2 separate regions of the Homo sapiens genome follow, and region 1 is linked to region 2. The links are contacts of gene promoters, found by promoter capture Hi-C in blood cells and fetal thymus (Javierre and others, 2016). All regions are on one chromosome and are shown on one strand. Each heading gives the region's core, a stretch centred on a gene start or on the middle of the fragment in contact. The rest is flanking DNA. Distances are from core to core; before and after follow the strand shown. Region 1 overlaps CDKL2 (cyclin dependent kinase like 2). Region 2 holds the start of PPEF2 (protein phosphatase with EF-hand domain 2).

The links. The method cuts DNA at HindIII sites, captures the fragments that hold promoters and counts their contacts. A CHiCAGO score of 5 or more calls a contact.
Region 1: a fragment that was not itself captured here is called in contact with the fragment with the promoter of PPEF2 in region 2 in 3 of 17 cell types (neutrophils, non-activated CD4 T cells and erythroblasts); the score reaches 6.2 in neutrophils.

Annotation. Positions count from the first base shown.
Region 1 is chr4:75,576,124-75,582,297 of GRCh38, forward strand. It overlaps CDKL2 (cyclin dependent kinase like 2), which reads right to left. Exons shown (of 14, transcript NM_001330724.2): 13 at 5,687-5,775; 14 at 373-3,055. The coding sequence ends at 5,710. Among named protein-coding and RNA genes, the nearest start is that of ODAPH, 23 kb to the left of the region's middle. The HindIII fragment of the contact is 1,699 bases long and covers 2,072-3,770 here.
Region 2 is chr4:75,898,943-75,905,034 of GRCh38, forward strand. PPEF2 (protein phosphatase with EF-hand domain 2) reads right to left here and starts at 3,510. Exons shown (of 17, transcript NM_006239.3): 1 at 3,288-3,510. The HindIII fragment of the contact is 14,377 bases long and covers 1-6,092 here.

The sequences.
Region 1 (6,174 bases), core at 1,671-4,170, 320 kb before region 2:
TACATTTTCCAAAATGTTACCAGAAACTTCACTTCTACAGGAGATGGCCCTGAGTGCCAAAGTAGAGAATATAGAAATTAAGAATGTGCAATGGGCAAAACTAAATTTTCACTGAAAACAAAGAAAAGTGCTGTCTCGTGGATGGGTTTTGGTTTTAAAGAAAATTTCTCAGAATATATTCAACATCAGATATCCACAAATATCTATAAACACAAAGCTCTAAATCACAAGTTACCCACGAGTGATAACATAAGGTACTTACTTCTCAGAGGGCATGTTAAGAAAAAAATATGCTGTACATTAATTACATTTTCTAGTTATTTCATGTCTGAAGCTGTCAAGAGAAAAAATAAGACCCTTGAGAAAACAATGTGAGAACATAATTTTTTATTCATATAGATAGAGGAGTGTTAAGCACCCTCTTCTAGTGCAAAAACACTTAATGCAAAAAACAACAGAGAAAAATCCATTCAGTCCAATTCACTAAGACTAGCCTAAAGCCTTAGGAGCAGTGCTCTGTTGCTTCTCTAATCCCCTGACCATGGTTCAGTTATATAGAGGAGGACTTAGAAAACAAATCGATCACATTTTTCAGTCTAGTCTGATACATAGTGTATTACAGGTCCAGCCTTATATTGTAGCACAACTAAGATAAAGGAACCAATAATGAGAGTCACATAAGAAAACACATTTTCTATGTTCCATTTCAATGGGAAGTCAGATATTCTAAGCAAGCAAGGGATTCTCAGTCAGGAAAACCAGGTTCTGTCACAACTATTACCAGTTAGTCTTTATAAGAAATGTTATTTTATGACCATGCTGCTTATATCACCAGCTATACAAGAAAATTAGCTTGCCATCCCTACATCCAAAGTTTTCCAGAAGAATTAACAGATTTAAAACTTATTTGTTAAATACCATACAGTAGTGTATATATTATTTATAGCCTCTTAATTAAATAAATCTAAATTTAAACCATCTATGGAGCCCAGTAAGATAATATTTATTAATTTTAAAACATACATACATGCAGCAAGCCCACTGCTCCCCACCAGTACATACACATATTCCCTATTAGTGTGTGACTAAATCATATCCTTGCAAGAGAAACTAAATAACCTTAAACTTAAAAAAAGGATCATTTTGGTTCAATATCTATTATTGTTGATTATGTAATCTTGTTGATTACATCAACAAGAATCACTGAAACCAATTTGCAGAATCTTTTTCTAGTAGTTCTGCCACAGTTCTAATCAGATATGATCCTCAAGTCATAACTTGGACTTATGGTAAATATTTTTTAGTTCCTTAATTCTAAAGTTCACAAAGTGTTTTAATAGGCAAAAGATATCAAAAGCTAGTATAAAAACTGCAAGGCAATTGATCCTAGAACCTCAACCATTGAGCTGATATTCTCACACTGATCTTTACATAAAAATAGTATTGAAATAAGCCGAAGCGCCATTTGGCTTTAAGTATTACCTGTTTGCCATGCTGCAGAATCTATTGGCAGTGTTTTTCAAAGTAAAAATAAAGTAGTAACTTTTTAATATGCAGCCTATTAATGCTGATACCCTAGTTTTTTCAGCATGTTATCCATACTAATGTTGTCAAACAGCTGGTCACAGATTAAAAGTAGAGCTTTTAAATCAAGACCAATTTTAATTTAACCACCACCTATAGACTTGTACATTGAAACCCCTTATTTGCCTCCTCTTGAATGTCCTACTCTTTTGAGGCTTAAATATCCAAGGTCAGAATTTCAGTATTAAGCTCCTCAGAGTAATAAAGAAAAGTTCTAGTTAAATTCTTCAGCTAAGTTCTAGTCAATGGCTTTGGAAAAAAAGCAACACACTATTAATTAGTTAAGGCAAAAAAAAAAAAAAAACTCACAAATTCTGGTTCCCTAAACAACCATTCTCTAAAATGATAAATGCAGAGCATGTGTAGAAACCCAGAAATCAAGAACCTGTAGCCAACTTAGTTTATTCCTCCCACCTAAAAAGTTTTGGATCCATGCATTGGAAAAGATGTGTGGAATGCAGGTAAATGATTTTGCACCTTGGTGAAAAGCTTTTGAGACGGCCTGAGTGTTTGAGGCCACAAGGAGACAGGAACTTCTCTGGATTCTAGTATCACCCTTAAACTACCAGGGGACAAAAGTGGAGTCCATAATAATGAACGTTCTCTCCCCAAACCCTCTTCAGCTGGGTAGTTCAATAGCAATTGGTCCACAGAAGAGTAATCAGTCCTGATCAATTCTGTATGGAGCATTAGCACCAGAATCTTACAATACATGGAACTAACCAATGCCAGAGTTGTAGTAAGTCATTCGAAAGAGGTTTCTCTGTCACGCTTGCATTAGTGTGGTTCTTAGAAGATCTGCAGGGAGGCCAGAGTCTCATAATACACTGATAGAATATCAAAAATAATTACAGAAGTCAAAGATACACATCTACCCATGGACAGGAGTTACATATTCACTTAATATCTAGAAACGTGTAAGATTGTTAAGTGTGTTTTCATAGTTAAATTCAGGTAAAGCAAACAGTTTCTCTTACTGATCCTAGTTTCTTCAATTTTCTTCAACTGATCCTAATTTTTATCACCTACCCCCAAGAAACCCACTCCTAAATAAATGTACACATTTATACAGAAAACACACAAAGTTCAATGCATGAGTAACATGGCCTTTTATAGTATTTCTCTCTGTCCCCCTTTTTTACACACTTTTAATCATGGTAACTTAAAATATACAATCTCCTAACAGTAAATACACATTCATGTAACAAGAACCATATCACTGTTATTCCACTGGATATGTCTTGAAATAGCATCGGTGGACGTGAAAGGTAATGGGATAACAGTTGGGGAGGGCCATTTGTTCAATCTTCCTTTGAAACATTTGGAAGTCTTTGTCTTTCCTTCTTCTAGAAGGCCTTCCTCAGAAAATGCAGGCAGTTCAGAAGGAAATGATCAAAACCATGAATCTCTCCTCTTGGGATATCAGCACTCTTGCTGCAAGAAGATGTCATCTCAAGTGCAAGAGCATCATCTAAAAGCACAGGAGGATATACCACCAACTATTTTACAAAAAATCTTTCTAAAAATTAATTTCTATCTCACTTGCTTTCTCACATCGTATATATTGATAACATTGGTGGGTACTATGTAGTTTAAGAAAACCTTAGATTTCAATTAGATGTATCAAAAGCAAATTTTTAAGACAATCTTTAGAATAATTACCAATCAAAACTATCTTGCGTATGGCTGGGTGCAGTGGCTCACGCCTGTAATCCCAACACTTTGGGAGGCCGAGGCGGGCAGATCACCTGAGGTTGGGAGTTCAAGACCAGCCTGACCAACATGGAGAAACCCCATCTCTACTAAAAATACAAAAAAATTAGCCCGGCATGGTGGCCCATGCTTGTAATCCCAGCTACTCAGGAGGCTGAGGCAGGAGAATCACTTGAACCCGGGAGGTGGAGGTTGCAGTGAGCAGAGATCACGCCATTGCACTCCAGCCTGGGCAACAAGAGCGAAACTCCGTCTCAAAAAAAAGAAAAACTATCATGTGTAACACACATCTCCTTTTATGCAAATAATGACTAATTTTGACAAAATGCATCCAAGTTTTGCAGACCCTGTAGTTTACACGGTTTGTATGAATTAGTTGTTCATTGCTCAACATGAATTAACTCAAATGAATGCATTGCAAAGACTCTCCCACGGCCTTGAAAGGACCTGTGCAAATGAAAGATCAAAACTTAAGCTTTGTTCACTTCACAGTACATTCACCTTTGATGTCACAGATGCTCAAAATGCTTTGTAAAGGTTAACAGATTAATTCCAATAATACAGTTAGGGGCTGGGCATGGTGACTCATGACTGTAATCCCAGCACTTTGTGAGGCCAAGGTGGGCAGATCACCTGAGGTCAGGAGTTCAAGACCAGCCTAGCCAACATAGTGAAACCCCATCTCTACTAAATATACAAAAATTAGCTGGGCGTGGTGGCACACACCTGTGATCCCAGCTACTCAGGAGGCTGAGGCATGAGGATCACTTGGAGGTTGCAGTAAGCTGAGATTGTGCCACTGCACTCCAGCCTGGGAGACAGAGCAAGACACCGTCTCAAAAAAATAAATAAATACAGTTGTGAGAATGTGGGAATTTATCATCATAATATTTTACATAATGAGATATTAAACATTGAATGACTTGCTTGAGCAAATAAATTATCATTCAAAATGGTCTGATTGGCCAGACATGGTGGCTCACACCTCTAATTCCAGCACTTAGGGAGGCCAAGACGGGCAGATCATTTGAGCTCAGGAGTTTGAGGCCACCCTGGGCAACATGGTGAAACCCCATCTCTACCAAAAATACAAAAAATTAGCCGGGCTTTGTGGCACACACGTGTGGCCCCAGCTACTCAGGAGGCTGGGGTGGGAGGATCGCTTCAGCCTAGGAGGCAGAGATTGCAGTGAGCCGAGATCACGCCACTGCACTCCAGCCTGGACAATACAGTAAGATCCCATCTCAAAAAAAATGTCTGATTTTTGTTTTGGCTTTTTTTTTTTTTTCTTTTTTTTTGAGACGGAGTCTCGCTCTGTCGCCCAGGCTGGAGTGCAGTGGCGCGATCTCGGCTCACTGCAAGCTCCGCCTCCCGGGTTCACGCCATTCTCCTGCCTCAGCCTCCCGAGTAGCTGGGACTACAGGCGCCCGCTACCACACCCGGCTAATTTTTTGTATTTTTAGTAGAGACGGGGTTTCACCGTGTTAGCCAGGATGGTCTCGATCTCCTGACCTCGTGATCCGCCCGCCTCAGCCTCCCAAAGTGCTGGGATTACAGGCGTGAGCCACCGCGCCCAGCCTTGGCTTTTTTAATACTAAAAAAGTTATATTTAAAAGGAAGTCAATAATTTGGTATAGCACTGATCTCTCTTTATTGGGAAAAATATTGCCAAGTATAATCATGCACTGTATAACAATGTTTAGGTCAACAATGAGCTGCATATACAATGGTAGTCCCATAGATTATCATGAAGCTGAAAATTCTTATTGCCTAGTGACATTGTAGCTAGTAACATCATAGTGCAATGCATTACCTTTTCTATGTTTTGATATATGAATATTTACTATTGTGTTACAATTGCTTACAGTATTCAGTACAGTAACATGCTGTGCAGGCTTGTAGCCTAGGAGGAATAGGCTATACCATATAGCCTAGGAGTATAGTAGGTTATATCATCTAGGTTTGTGTAAGTAAACTGTGATGTTAGCATAACAGTGAAATCACCTAAGGATGCATCTTTCAGAACATTAACCGAGGCATCATTATAATCAATCAATCTTGCTTTACAGGCCCACAGGGCAAATGACTGATAAGGGAGATAGGTATATATCTTTCTTGAGCACTTGTCACCCTAAATTCACATTACTATATCCAATAAAATGCAGGAGATTAGTTTAAGAGCAAGAGATGTACGCTCTGCGAAAAGGGATTTCATCTCAGAGATAAATACTACTTCTGGTTTTCTAAGTGGCACAACTCTTTCTCTATCAGAAGTTCTCATGGAATCAATCACTGGAGACGGTTTCAGCTGAAAAATTGGTATTCAGCAAGCCACAAAATAGTACCTGTGAAAGGCTGCACAGCTTTAAGTATGGGAAATCACACCTACCCAGTTCAGAACCAAAATGGTTCTCAGTGCTGGTGTTCCATTTGAGGCAAATCAGCCCCTGAATCATCTGACAGGGGAGGTCCTGATACCTATAAATTAATAATAGAGCATCATAGGTTCTCAGTAATTGCAAAAGTTCCACTTCCCCAAAATTTCAATTCTATTTGTTCAAATATTAGATGTTTATAATTAACTATTCATAGCTCAAGTTGCCTACATGGAAAAGAATGAAGTAAGGGGACATTGTTCTTTTCCTTTTCTTTAGTCCCAAACATGACTGCTGAGTGGATGTTATTCTTTGATCTTAGTTTATGCATATGTTAAAAGATACTTCTGATCTGCCAAGGCAGTGTAAGCCCACTACAGCCCATCTCTTCTACTTATTACAAAAATACAAAAACAGAAACCTGTTGGAACCATCATATAAAGACTTTGAAGCAGCCCTTATAACTCTGCTACATGAAGTAAAGGAAAACATACTTGAAATG
Region 2 (6,092 bases), core at 2,260-4,759:
TGCCAGAACTTATTCCTTCTATCTAACTGTAACATTGTACCTGTTAATCAACTTTCCTCATCTCCTGCTTCCTTCTATTTTCCCCAGTCTCTAGTAATCATTACTCTATGCTCAACTTCCATGATCTCAACTTTTTTAGCTCCCACATATGAGTGAGATCACGCAGTATTTGTCTTTCTGTGCCTGGCTTATTTCACTTAACATAATGTCCTCCAGGTTCACCCATATTGTCACACAGAACAGGATTTCATCCTTTTTATGGCTGAATAGTATTCCACTGTACATATATACTACATTTTCTTCATCCATTCATCCACTGATGGGCATACAGGTTGATTCTATGTCTTGGCTATTGTGAATAATGTTACAATAAACATGAGTATGCAATTGTCTCTTCAAAATACTGATTTTGCTTCCTTTGGATATACACCCAAAGTGTAGTGGGATTGCTGGATCATTATGCCATATTTCTTTTTATACAACAAAGATGACACTTTCTCTAGTTCTTCTTCAGGAGGTAATGTGAGATGTACTGACTTAACATCAAGAGCGAATCCCACTTCTTTTACTCTTTTCTCTACCTCATTTCTACCCCACTCTCCTCCGCTATTTTTGAAGGTTGTGATACTGGGGATTATCAAAGAGTTGTTGTCTTTTTCTCTGAAAATCAAAATTAAAGTCTTACCTTGCTTATGTTGGCTAGTTTATTTTGAATAAACAACCAGAGGAAAAAAGACTGTGATCTCTTTTTGTGTGCAAAATGGTTCCTAGTTCTATGAGATGTCATGATACCAGAATCTGAGTTTGGGGTAAAGTGAGAAGCCATCATGTCCAAACCAACAAAACTGCTCCTAAATATTTGCACAGTTTTAGAACTAGAAGGGACTTCAGCAATGATTCTGCTTGTCAATGACTCACAAGTTGCTTTGATACATTGGTAACTTGCCTGCATAGCCAAGTTGTGTATTTAAGAGTGTTTGATGTGGGTGAGAATTTTTGTTCACCTTCTCACTCAATTTTGGGCACTTAAGCTCTCAGAGACTCAGTTTTCTCATCTATGTATCTTCAAGGATCATAAATGATATATTTAAAGTGCTTTCTATACAATAAAACCTCAATATATGTTGATGGACTGAATCTGATGTCATATTTATTTTAAAATATCAACAACCAAAAATATGTTCTTGGAGGCAGTAAAAGGCATACTATTTCAATGCTGCATGAATCAGCAGGATGGATACTGATTATTGCTGGGTCAAAGATTTTTATTAAATAAATCCTCTTTTGCCCTTAGGCAACTTTTTTTCTCATGAATTTATAAATTCAAAAATGGTGGCAGAATAAGATGACCTACAAAGAATTTATTGGAGATAGAAATATAGCATTGCCTAGAGTAAGGAAGTTGATATCTATCATGGGCCAATAAACTATTTAGAACAACCACAAGAGATGAAAGAAATGAAGTCTCCCATTAGGTAGTTGTAACTAACTCTTGGTGACCTTTTGTCACCAAGGACAAAAAGGATATGTTTTCCTATGTCATGTGGAAGGGGAAAAGGGGTACCTAGCTACCATTATAACAGCAAAGGCACATGTGATCCCTGCCTTGGGGCTCCCTGGTCTCATCTGTTTCTCTGTTATTTATGGATAATGGTAACGTCATTACAGGGTTGTTAGGAGTGTGAAGTGAGGTTATATATGAGGAGTACTTTGCAAATGTTTGTCATCGTCATGAAAAACATAGATAAGGAATTTTCTTAAATGACATCCTCAAAAATCTCTTAAAGTTCTTCTCCTCCTCAGATAAAAAGCACCTTAAATAATTATCAGTAAAGAATCAACAAAATACATCATGATGCTTTAAAAACAATGGAATGTATTCCACCATGACAAAGAACAAGGCAAGTCGATATGTAATCATATGAAAACGGCCCCAAGATATATTGTTACATGAAGAAAAGCAAATTCCAGAAGAGCACGCCTAGTGTGATATCATCTGTATAAAAAAAGTCAGTAAGTATATAAAAATGAAAGACTATACACCAAGCTATTAACAGTAATTACCTCTGGAGAAAGAGGTTGGGTGAGAGATTTCCATTTTTAACTTATATACTTCTATTACAGCTTTTGTAATTAAAAATCAATAAATGATATTTTTCTAAAATTTTTACACATAAGAAAAATTAGAAAGTGGCTCTGACTAAATAGGTATCCCATATGGCTGCTTAAGAGAAGAAGATGGAGTCATCTACGGACAAGCAGAGAACATTCTAGAAATCAATAAGAAAAATGGCTGGGTGCCGTGGCTCATGCCTGTAATCCCAGCACTTTGGGAGGCTGAGGCGGTTGGATCCCCTGAGCTCAGGAGTTCGAGACCAGCCTAGCCAAGATGGTGAAATCCTATCTCTACTAAAAATACAAAAATTAGCTGGGCATGGTGGCACATGCCTATAATACCAGCTACACTATTTGGGAGGCTGAGGCAGGAGAATCGCTTGAACCTGGGAGGTGGAAGTTGTAGTGAGCCAAGATTTCGCCACTACACTCCAGCCTGGGTGACAGAGCGAGACTCCACCTCAAAAAAAAAAAAAGGAAATGAACAGAAAGGGGAAGTAGAATAATTCTCAAGGGAAAAACTAAAAATGTGAAAACTTCATAAGGTCAGCCACAGAAAACGAGCTTGAGGGAGCCCGAGATTGTTGAATCAGCACCTTTGGTAATCACCAGCTGTCTTCTCCCCCTGATGATTTCCCAAGCTGAGCCATCTCTCCAGGTGATGAGTACATCCACCCAACGTGGGTGAGACCCCTTCTCCTTCTAGAATTTGACTTAGCATCATCAATGCCTCACATTATCATGAAAAACAAAAATTAGCTAGGGGTGGTAGTGCAGCATGCCTGTGGTTCCAGCTACTCAGGAGGCTGAAGTGAGAAGACTGCTTGAGCCCAGGAGTTCGAGGCTGTAGTGTGCTATGATTGCACTTATGAACAGCCACTGCACTCCAGTCTGGGCAACATAGTGAGACTCTGTCTCTTAGGTGGAAAAAAAAAGTGTTTATCTGTCCACTAAGTGAGCCCAAGAAATCCAGGGCAGAATGGTCACCCAGCACTTGAAGATCTCATCACACAGATAGCAAAGACCCCATCTGGATGAGTTGATAGATAACAGAGGAGCTGTCTTTGACCTTTGTCTCAAAACAACTCTGTATTTATTTCCTAGGTAAAAACATAAGTGTCGCCCTCCTGTTCTCACCCATTTCTACTTTAGGCTAGACAGAAAGTTCTTACCTTCTTTGCTGGGTTTTTTATTTACCATGAGACACAACAAGGCAGAAATCTCTTTAACATGCAGGCGTGATCCCCATCCTGTCTTCAGAGTTGGCTGAGGGATCCCAGGCTGATCTGATTTCTTTCAGACCTACAGAGCCCATAAAGAAGGTGCAGCCCTAGTCTGCCATGTCTTCTTCCTGAAAAGCAATGGTGACATTCACAGCCCTGGCCAAGTATTCACAGTGACAGGAAGGAAAGTTCAGGCTTCTTGCCTCGAAGGAGTAGGCACCCCCTGACGTCAGTCAGATCAGGCCCCCAAGGAAGATTTGAAGGGGGCGACTGCATAGTCGGGGTATCTCCCATATACCCAAGGAGATGGGTTTCTCTAACAGCACCCACGTCAGTCCTAAATCTTCTTACTCTCCTGGATTAGAAGACTGTGTTTCCCAGGCCACATCTGAGAAGCCTGAGCTCCTTAGCCCTGAAATAGCAGAGTGCTGACAAGACACAGGGGCCTAGGGGCTCTGGAGTCCAAGGGGAGTCCTCAGCAGAAGACACATAGGAGGCATTCTTTGTTGGGGCTGGCTTTTCTGTTTGCAAAGCCTGCTTGAAATATCCTGCCCTTTCTATGGACACTTTCCTTAGGATATAACCTAATCTGTGGTTAATCACTATTCTTGGACAACTTACTTTTTCAGTTAATCTAAGATGCTCGTGTGTGTGTTCTGGTAGGTACTAAATGCACCATGGAAATTCTCAAAGAAAGTGATATTCTGTTTGTCTATATCTAGTAGGTCAAGTTTGTTCATTATTATTATTATTATTATTATTATTTTGAGACAGTCTTGCTCTGTCGCCCAGACTGGAGTGCAGTGGCACAATCTCAGCTCACTGTAACCTCTGCCTCCTGGGTTCAGGCAATTCTCATGCCTCAGCATCCCGAGTAGCTGGGATTACAGGCACCCCCGCTGCCATGGCCAGCTAGTCTTTCTATTTTTAGTAGAGACAGGGTTTCTCCATGTTGGCCAGGCTGGTCTCCAACTCCTGGCCTCAAGTGATCTGCCCACCTCAGCCTCCCAAAGTGCTGGGATTACAGGTGTGAGCCTCCACACCCGGCCTAAATTTGTTAATTATATTAATTCAGATCCTCTTTATCTTTGTTTATTCTTCCTGATCTGACCATCTTTGAAAGAGGTATTTTGAAGATTTCTATGACAAGTACAGATTTAGCAAATTCTCCTTGTATTTGAGTCTTTGCATTACACGTTTTGAAGCTATATAATTAGATATTAAATTTAAACCATGTAAAATTGCCATCGGCAACTGTGTAATTACACATGAAGCCGTATTGTCATTTAACTGTCTTGGTAGAGGGTGACATAAAAATTAAATATCACTCTGCCTTTTAAAATTCTTTTTGCATTTGATTCTCTTTTGTCTGATATTAACATTTTCACATTAGCTTAGTTTTTGTTAGTGGCTGACTGCTAACATTCTTTCTCCAAGTTGACTAAAAGACTGATAAAATCCTGTATTACTGAGAGTATGAGAAAAAGGACCCTCTCCATATACTATTGCTGGGATCGTTAAAATGTTTCATTTTGGGGGAATTAAATTAAATTTTAATTGTAATTTATTAAATTACATACTTAAAATATGTAAATCCTTTAATCTAGAAATTATACTTCTAAGTATCTTACAGAATTATACACCCATGCAAAAATCTATATAAGGATTTTTATTACTGTATAATTTGTGATTAGGAAAAGTTGGAAAATAACCTAAGATATTTTTTTATGTGGTATTACCCATATTTTCTAGTTTCCATATTGATGCTTTGACATTTTGGGGCCTTGTTGACCAGGGAGAGACTACACCTCCTGGGATTAGCTGATCCCTGAGATGCAAACTAACCAATCTAGAGCCCTACCACCAAATCCCTCCTTTTTTGGACTTTCATACTCAAGGCCGTTATCTCTCTACCCTAATCACCCTGACATCATATATCAGACAACTCAGTGCAGTCTACAGTCAGGAGTCAGCTGACACTATTCCAACTAGCTAGTCCTCCACCTGCTTAGCCGCCTTACCCTGCCTCACCCATTCCTTCCCTCGAAAACCACAGTTCTCCTGTCCTCTGCCTGTGACCAACCTCAGTGTTCTCTCCCGTGGCTGTGCAGGTGTGACCTCTCCTCTTGGGAACGAGGAGTAATAAGCTATCTTTTAAATGGCAATTGTCCCCTGATCTGTTGGCCTTATCATACCTGAATAAAAATAGAATCTACATTTTAAAACGTTTATGCATTTTTAAATGTCTTAATGAGTACAGATGGCAGTTATCACTAGGGGTACTCATGGGGAGAGTGCCATCCACAAGTGGGGAAGAGAGGCAGAGGATCACATTATGTACTGTTTGATTTATTTTTATATTAGAAATCTGTTACTTGTGTTCTTATTATTATTATTTTTTTTTTTTTGAGACAGAGTTTCGCTCTTGTTGCCCAGGCTGGAGTGCAATGGCGCAATCTCGGCTTACTGCAACCTCTGCTTCCTGGGTTCAAGCGATTCTCCTGCCTCAGCTTCCTGAGTAGCTGGGATTACAGGCATGTGCCACCATACCTGGCTAATTTTTTATTTTTAGTGGACACAGGGTTTCTCCATGTTGGTCAGGCTGGTCTTGAACTCCTGACCTCAGGTGACCCGCCAGCCTCAGCCTCCCAAAGTGCTGGTATTACAGGCGTGAGCATGGTGATGCCCAGTCACTTGTGTACTTTTTAAAAACAGAATATTTTGAAAACCAGCTCTCTCCATCTGCCATGAAAG